Linked DNA regions of Homo sapiens: region 1 is linked to region 2. Evidence: promoter capture Hi-C in human tissues and cell types (Jung and others, 2019). All regions are on one chromosome and are shown on one strand. Each heading gives the region's core, a stretch centred on a gene start or on the middle of the fragment in contact. The rest is flanking DNA. Distances are from core to core; before and after follow the strand shown. Region 1 holds the start of BOD1 (biorientation of chromosomes in cell division 1). Region 2 holds the start of ATP6V0E1 (ATPase H+ transporting V0 subunit e1).

The links. Contacts are between HindIII fragments. The study calls those that stand out against the background at their distance.
Region 1: a contact is called between the fragment with the promoter of BOD1 here and the fragment with the promoter of ATP6V0E1 in region 2, in 1 of the 25 tissues and cell types used here (IMR-90 fibroblasts).

What each region holds. Positions count from the first base shown.
Region 1 is chr5:173,615,057-173,618,892 of GRCh38, forward strand. It overlaps BOD1 (biorientation of chromosomes in cell division 1), which reads right to left and starts at 1,594. Exons shown (of 4, transcript NM_138369.3): 1 at 1,144-1,594. The coding sequence starts at 1,380. RefSeq lists silencers at 1,401-1,450, 1,461-1,530 and enhancers at 1,511-1,770, 1,791-1,870. The HindIII fragment of the contact is 11,068 bases long and covers 1-3,836 here.
Region 2 is chr5:172,981,298-172,985,291 of GRCh38, forward strand. It overlaps ATP6V0E1 (ATPase H+ transporting V0 subunit e1), which reads left to right and starts at 2,474. Exons shown (of 4, transcript NM_003945.4): 1 at 2,474-2,667. The coding sequence starts at 2,564. RefSeq lists an enhancer at 2,289-2,583 and a silencer at 2,349-2,528. The HindIII fragment of the contact is 13,025 bases long and covers 1-3,994 here.

The DNA.
Region 1 (3,836 bases), core at 344-2,843, 630 kb after region 2:
AGAACTTGTCCTAGGAAAGGTGAAAGCTCTGTCAATACAGATCTGGGATGTATATGTATTAAATTACTTTGTTTCAAGGACAGACTTCTAGTTGGGCTTTTCATCTTGGAGAAGGAACAGTGTATACCACTTTCTCTCTCTACATCCGTATTTACCACCTGGTTTATTTACATGTCAGTTTTCTAACCTAGACTATAAGTTTTGAGGATGGGGTAGTGACTTATTCCTGTAATCGCACAGCTTGGCAACTAGAGGCCAATAAACGTTCAACGAATAAACAGACTACGTTTTTCCCTATCTTAAGGTCTAATTCTAAGCTCACAATCTTGCTGTGAGGTAAGCAAAATGTTTCCATGACAGGCTCTGGTAGGAGAAATCACTACCCTGCAGGAGTCCAGTGACAGGGTCTCCTAACCTACAACCACAGTCGTGGCTAGACAAGTTTTGAAAAGGAAGAAAATGAACATTCCAGCAACTACTGTATGTCTGATACTTAACACCCATTATTTCATTGAATCCAAACCACCCTGACGAGTAGGTAAAGTGAAATAGCGTTTTACTGGTGGGACTGACCAATGGCATTAGGATCTCAACTAGGCACCAAATCTCCTTTTATCAATGATGAAGTGCAAAATAAGGGTGCTGTTTCTACAATTTATCTTAATTCAACGCCGTACTAGTCTGCAAAACAATGAGCTAGAGAAAAGGAATAAACAGCTATAAAATGGTGATGACTGTGTGTTCAAATCATTGTGTTTAATGCCAGCTTCTCAGTGGTGAGTACGGAACAGGTGGAAATTCTAAAGCACGCTTGCTTATCTACTTGGTTTCGAAGTTTGTTATTAAGGGCCTCAGAGGAGTTCCATCTTGGGAATGATACGGTCTAGGCTCTAAAACCCACATTGAAACCCCAAGTTCGGAGAAGGGACTGGGTAAAATCACAACTAGTAGTAAATGTATCAGGCAGGAACCCACGTGTGCATCGCTCAGAAAGCTCTCCGTACTGCCCCAAGCGGTGTAAGACCTCACCGCTGAGATTTCTAAGCTATCTTTTGTTTTGCTCTCGGCTTTCGAAAATCAAAGCTGCCACCCGGCGGCCTCACGTGCAGCCCCGCTCCCCAACGCCCAGGCGGCCGCAGCTACCTTGGTGTCCACGTCGGCCAGGCAGTCCCGGCGGAAGCTGTCAAAAAGGCCCCGGCTCTTGAGCTGCTCCACGATGAGAGCGATGAGCTGCGGGTCGCCGGGAGGCAGCGAGGCCGGGTTGATGGGGCCACCGCCCCCGCTGGCCCCAGTAGCGCCAGTCGCTGCCCCGGCAGAGGCCTGGCTAGTTCCGCCGCCGCCCACCGCGCCAGTTCCCCCGCCGCCGCCGCCGTCCGCCATGGCTGCGCCCCGGGCCCACAAGGGAGAACGACTATAGCTTCTTCTCCAGGACAGAAGGCCTAGAACGTGTAGAGGTGGTGAAGGGGGCGGTGAAGGAGGAGGGCCCCAAGGCGGCAGCGGCGGAGGTGGCGATGGCGGCAGGGGCGGTGGTGGGGGCGGCGGCGGCGAAGGCCCCCTCTGATACAGCAGAGGTTGTGGTGGACGCGGCAGAAACGGCCTGCTCGATTCCAGGCGCACCCCAGATGGCGTCAACGTTGACCTTTGCATTGTGGGGCGGGAAGTTTTCTGTGGCCATCTCCGGCGTTCTTTATAGGCAGCGGCCTAGCCGAGAGAAACTACAACTCCCGGCAGGGTTCGTGCTTGCTCGTCGCGATTTCGCGGGGTAATATGGGAACTGTAGGCGCAGGCCTCGTGATCGCTGCAACCCGCCAGGCCTTCCCCGCCAGGCCTTCCCCGCCCACTCTCTGCTCACTTCCCATTCAATCAACACGTCCCAGCAGTGCCCGATTATAACAGTCATCTGTGGAGCTGATTAAAAGTATAGATTACCAGAATTATTTCTTAAAGATTTTTATCCAGTATTTACGGGTCGAGACCTAGCAATCTGTGCTTCAGCATGCACTCCCACGTCCTTCTTGAACAACATGTTCCGGGAAATTCCGGAAACAGTGGAACAGTCAAACTTCTATTGTTCAGAAATTTGTGAGTTTCCCTCCTTTTGGTTTTAATAGCAATGCATACTCATTTTAGAAAATTGGAAAATAACGGAAAAGTGTGAAGAAGAAAATAAAAGTTTTCCTTAAGTCTGTCTTATATGTGTGTGGATTTCCTCCCAAATATTAAATATTGTCAATCATAAGCCAATATTGAATAATTGAAAAGTGTCAGGCGTGATGCTATGCACTTTCCACGCACTTCTTCACGATAATTTAAAAAAGCAGATACATACTACTATTATTGCTATTTACAGACGTAGAAATGGAGGCAGAAGAAAGTTTGTTAACCTAATCACATACCTAGAGGTAGAAAAGTAGGATTTGAACCCAGGTTTTGAGGATCTAAATCTTGCATTTTAGCCTGAGGTATCCTGAGAGCTAGTTGGTATCCCACAATAGGTAAGGCTTTATATCCTGATTTTTTTAAGTAGCCACAATTCACCATTGGAATCCTATAGCTGCCACCATTATCCTCTCTTCCCTTCATCTTTTGCCTATTGTTAGCTCAGCTCCCCCTCCCAACCTCAGCAATTATGTCTGCTATTGTTGTTTCCTCATCTTACACAAGCAGCAGAGGGGATGTAAATAGCAAATTCTGCAATATCCTTGGCTCCTGCGAAGATGCAGAATTGGCAAAGATCCAGGATGTTCTCCACACCAATATTTAGTACTCAAGACAGTTTAATTTTTTTTTCTTTTTTTTTTTTGAGACAGAGTCTCACTCTATCGCCCAGGCTGGAGTGCAGTGGTGCAATCTTGGCTCACTGCAGCCTCCACCTCCTGGGTTCAAGCAATTCTCCTGCCTCAGCCTCCCGAGTAGCTGGGATTACAGGCGCATGCCACCATACCTGGCTAATTTTAGTATTTTTAGTAGAGATGGGGGTTTCACCATGTTGGCCAGGCTGGTCTTGAATTCCTGACCTCAAGTGATCTACCCGCCTCAGCCTCCCAAAGTGCTGGGATTACAGGTGTGAGCCACCACACCTGTCCAAGAGAGTTTAAATTAACCCTCAAAAGAAACATTCAGGTGTTGGATTATACTCATCCTCTAACACCAGCTCAATCATTCACAATGGGTCAGTTAATGACAAACATTCTCTCTTAATAGCTCACCATCCTTGAGATTACCTAATGTCTGTTCCTACTGGTTGACTCTACACTGATCACTCACCTTTAACCCCAGGAGAAGCCCAGTTCAGGCTGCCTCAGCCCCAGGTTCTTTCTTCTGCAAGCCCTTGATCACTCTGACTAGTCCCTTCTCCATTTTTGGCACCCCACATCTTACTCTCCTTCCTCAGGGAAAATTCTTCTGACCCCTAGATCCAATGAGATATTTCCTCCATGCTACAGAAACTCAAAGCCTCATTTTTTGTAGCAATTATTATAATTGGAAGTGAATGATTTACAGACAAATTGGCCACCTGAGTCCCCTGATAGGGTGTAATATTTAGAATGGGGACCACGACTTGTTCATCACTGTGTCTCCAGCTCTTAGCACGATAGTTCTTAGCTCAAAGAGAATGTATAAATTCCTGTCTGTTTCCTAAAGCTGTGGGATAGCATCACAGAGTGCGTGGGTAGGATTATGTGTAGCCATAATCTTCAGAAAAGAAGGAGCATTCTAGCAGGAGATGATGGATGAATCTGTCATGACTTAAATAGGTAAGTGATCCTGGAGATTGTCTGCACTTGGTTCACACTGTGACAATTTCACTATCTGTCATGGGGACCTGTGTCTTG
Region 2 (3,994 bases), core at 1,224-3,723:
CGAGCCATTGTCATGCTACTGCACTCCAGCCTGGGCAACAGAGTGAGATTCCATCAAAAAAAGAAAAAAGAAAGAAAGAAAGAGAGAGGAAGGAAGGAAGGAAGGAAGGAAGGAAGGAAGGAAGGAAGGAAGGAGAAAGTAGAAATGAACTTCTTTCTCTAATTTTGTTCTGACCTCATCCCTTCTTAGCTACTCAATTCAGTTGCACAGTTATTTATTGAGCACATTCTATGTATAAAGTCCTCCCGGAAACAAAGATCAGTGAAACAGTGCCTATTCTCAAGGAGTTGGCCCTCTAGTAGAGGGTTGGTCAAGATACATATACAACAAGGCCAAAGAGATGCGCTAACAGGATGAAATGGGTCTTGGAGAAGGCGGTGTTTGGGCTAGAACTTAAGGACCATAGGATTTCTGCTGGGGCTAAGTTTTGGGGAAGCATTATGAGCACAAAGGAGACAAACTAGTTTTCTACATTGCTGATCAGGTTAAAGGCTTAGAATCATGTCCGAAAAGTTGGTACAGATGTTGAAGATTATTGGTCCAGTTTCCCGTTTAATACAGGAATCCATTCTACTTGATGAAAGAAATCAGGAGTTAATGCAATGTGGCTACTGCAAGGAAACCATGGTCCCTGGTAAAGCACATTGCATTTAAAGACCTGCTTTCTATCTTGCTTTCACCTGTAAGCTTTATCATCAAGCTCCTCAACCTCTCTGAGAACTGGCTTCCTTGTCTATTCCAAGCTTGGCGCATACTATAACTAACATATGTGAAAATTCTCAGCAAGCGTTCTAAGCCCTGTTTATCAGCTCAGCACGGTGGCTTATGCCAGTAATCCCGGCACTTTGGGAGGCTGAGGTGGAGGATCCCTTCAGGCCAGGAGTTTAAGACCCACCGGGGCAACATAGCGAGGCTCTGTCTCTACAAAACATTTTAAAAATTAGCTGGTGTGGTGGTGCACACCTGTAGTCCCAGCTCCTCAGGAGGCTGAGGCAGAAGGATGGCTTGAGCCCGGGAGTTCCAGGCAGCAGTGAGCTATGGAGCACCACTGCACTCCAGCCTGGGTGACAGAGCAAGGCCCTGTCTCAAAAAACAAACAAACAAACAAAACTGTTTTACCTTTCTTTTTCTTTCTTTCTTTTTTTTTTTTTTTTTGAGGCAGAGTTTCACTCTGTCGCCAAGGCTGGAGTGCAGTGGTGCGATCTCAGCTCATTATAACCTCTGCCTCCCAGGGATTCAAGCGGTTCTTGTTCCTCAGCCTCCTGAGTGGCTGGGACTACAGGTGCATACCTGGCCAATTTTTGTATTTTTAGTAGAGATGGGATTTCACCATGTTGCCCAGGCTAGTCTTGAACTACTGACCTCAGGTGATCTGCCCGCCTCGGCCTCCCAAAGTGCTGGGATTACAGGTGTGAGCCACCATGCCTGGCCTGTTTTTCTTCTTACCATTCTGGCTAATTTCTACTTGTCTTTCAAGGCTCAGCAAGGACGAGTTGGGTAGAAAGCCTTGCAGGGTCGTCCACTTACTTTCACACTGCATTGAGTCGCCTGTTTGCAAGGTCATCTGCTCCCCAGAATGTGAACTCCCTCAGGGGTGCCTGATTGACTTCTGTAACTCCAGAGCCTGGCACAGCACACAAGATAAATAGTGGTGCGCTAGTTAAGAGCTCTGGCCTTGAAAATCAGATAATCAGGGGTTGAATCCTGGCCCTGCCACTTACTATGTGACTTTGGGCAAGATCCTTATCCTCTTCCCTGGGCCTCAGTTTCTTCAACTGCAAAGTGGGGATAATAATTACAATTACCTCATAGGCTGAAGTGAGGAGTTCAACACGGGCTCATGCACTTTTTTTTTTTTCTTTTGAGACAGAGTGTTGTTCTGTTGCCCAGGCTGGAGTGCAGTGGCGCAATCTCGGCTCACTGCAACCTCCACCTCCCGAGTTCAATTGATTCTCCTGCCTCAGCCTCCTGAGTAGCTGGGACCACAGGCGCGCACCACCACACCCAGCTAATTTTTGTATTTTTAGTAGAGACAGGGTTACACCATGTTGGCCAGGCTGGTCTCGAACTCCTGACCTCAAGTGATCCGCCTGCCTCAGCCTGCCAAAGTGCTGGGATTACAGGCGTGAGCCACCGCACCCGGCCTGGGGCTCATGAACTTAAAGATCATGGCCCAGTGCCAGGCACACGGGAATTCAGAATAGTAAGGGACAACTATTGTTAAGTTCTCTATGTCTGTTGCATAAGTAGATGAGGCTGTAGATAACTACACTCTTTGTCTAAAAGGGCCAAGTTCTCATCAGAACACTTTGCTGAGCCCCGGGTGACCGAATCCCTAGCTCTGGGGTGAGCGACATGCCTCCAAGGAGCTGCAGCCAGGAGACAGCCAGGCGAAGGCGGGGCTCTGCCTCTGGGCTCCCCGAGGGGCGGAGGCCGGCGCGCGGGTCACGTGGGGGCGCGGGAGGCGGGGCTTGCACACGCTGGTCACGCGGTCAGCTATTGACACTTCCTGGTGGGATCCGAGTGAGGCGACGGGGTAGGGGTTGGCGCTCAGGCGGCGACCATGGCGTATCACGGCCTCACTGTGCCTCTCATTGTGATGAGCGTGTTCTGGGGCTTCGTCGGCTTCTTGGTGCCTTGGTTCATCCCTAAGGGTCCTAACCGGGGGTAAGTGCGTGAGGCCCGCCTTGGGAGGAACGGGCGGTGAGGAGCTAGCAGGCCGGGGCGGGGAAAGGCACGACCCCCACACGGGTCAGAGAACGTTGCATGGGCGCCCCCCGCGCTGCAGAGTCAGGCCCCCGACCCGGCGGAACTCCTTGTGTTCCTTTTCGCAGCAGCTTCAGTGTCCTCCGGCCTGAGCGAGTGGAGGGTGACCTTTGGTGGACCCCCCTTGGAAACGAGTTTCAGGGGAATTTTTTCTCATCATAGTCCTGTGTGGGGAGGTGCAGTCGGAAATGAGCAGGCCGAATCTGGGAGAAACTGGGGTTTGTCCCTAGTCGACTGTCCCCCTTTAGCCCTGCCTTCCACCCACATGAGGCCTCGTTTGCCTGAACTTAAGGATCAAATAAATAAAACAGAAATTGGCTTCTCTGCCTCCCATGCTGTCGCGGTTGCGTACAGAACAAGCTCCTTCGACAACATTGAGCCCAGGCCTTGCATCTAGTGGGCGCCAGGAGGCGGTTGGGGCCTGATCTAAAGCGAGATTAATTACCAAAGAGCAGGAGGTATTGTTGAGAAACCCCTGCGTCATGCCTTTTGGAGGGCGCTCCGGCTCTTGTATGTGAGTGTAAGAAGTGCTTAGAATGATTGGCTAAGAAAGATTTTGTTTTTCCAGACTTCTTTGTTGGTTAGAGCTTTGTCTCTTTTGGAATTAAACTTTTTAACTGTAGTATAAAATAGAGGCTTAATCTTCAAAGGAGCCTTGGAACACCCTCTTCCTGGTTCCTCTTTTGCTTCTCAGTCATTTTTTTCTCAGTTCAAGATGATGAGAGGTGAAACTTCGACTGAAGTCAGTTTGTCAGAAACACCATCTCTTGCTTTATTCTTGAACCTAATTGGTGGCTTCATAGTGCCTGGTTTTCATAGTACCTTGTATGCACAGGAGGCACCCAATAAATACCTGTTGAGTGAATAGTTCTATTGTCTTTATTAAAAGAAAAAGATTTTTGGCCAGGTGCCGTGGCTCACGCCTGTAATCCCAGCACTTTGGGAGGCCAAGGCGGGCGGATCACGAGGTCAGGAGATCGAGACCATCCTGGCTAACACGGTGAAACCCGTCTCTACTAAAAACACAAAAAATTAGCCGGGCGTGGTGGCGGGCGCCTGTAATCCCAGCTACTCGGGAGGCTGAGGCAGGAGAATGGCGTGAACCCAGGAGGCAGAGCTTGCAGTGAGCCGAGATCGCGCCACTGCACTCCAGCCTGGGCGACAGAGCGAGACTCCGTCTCAAAAAAAAAAAAAAAAAAGAAAGAAAAAGATTTTTACTACTTCCCTA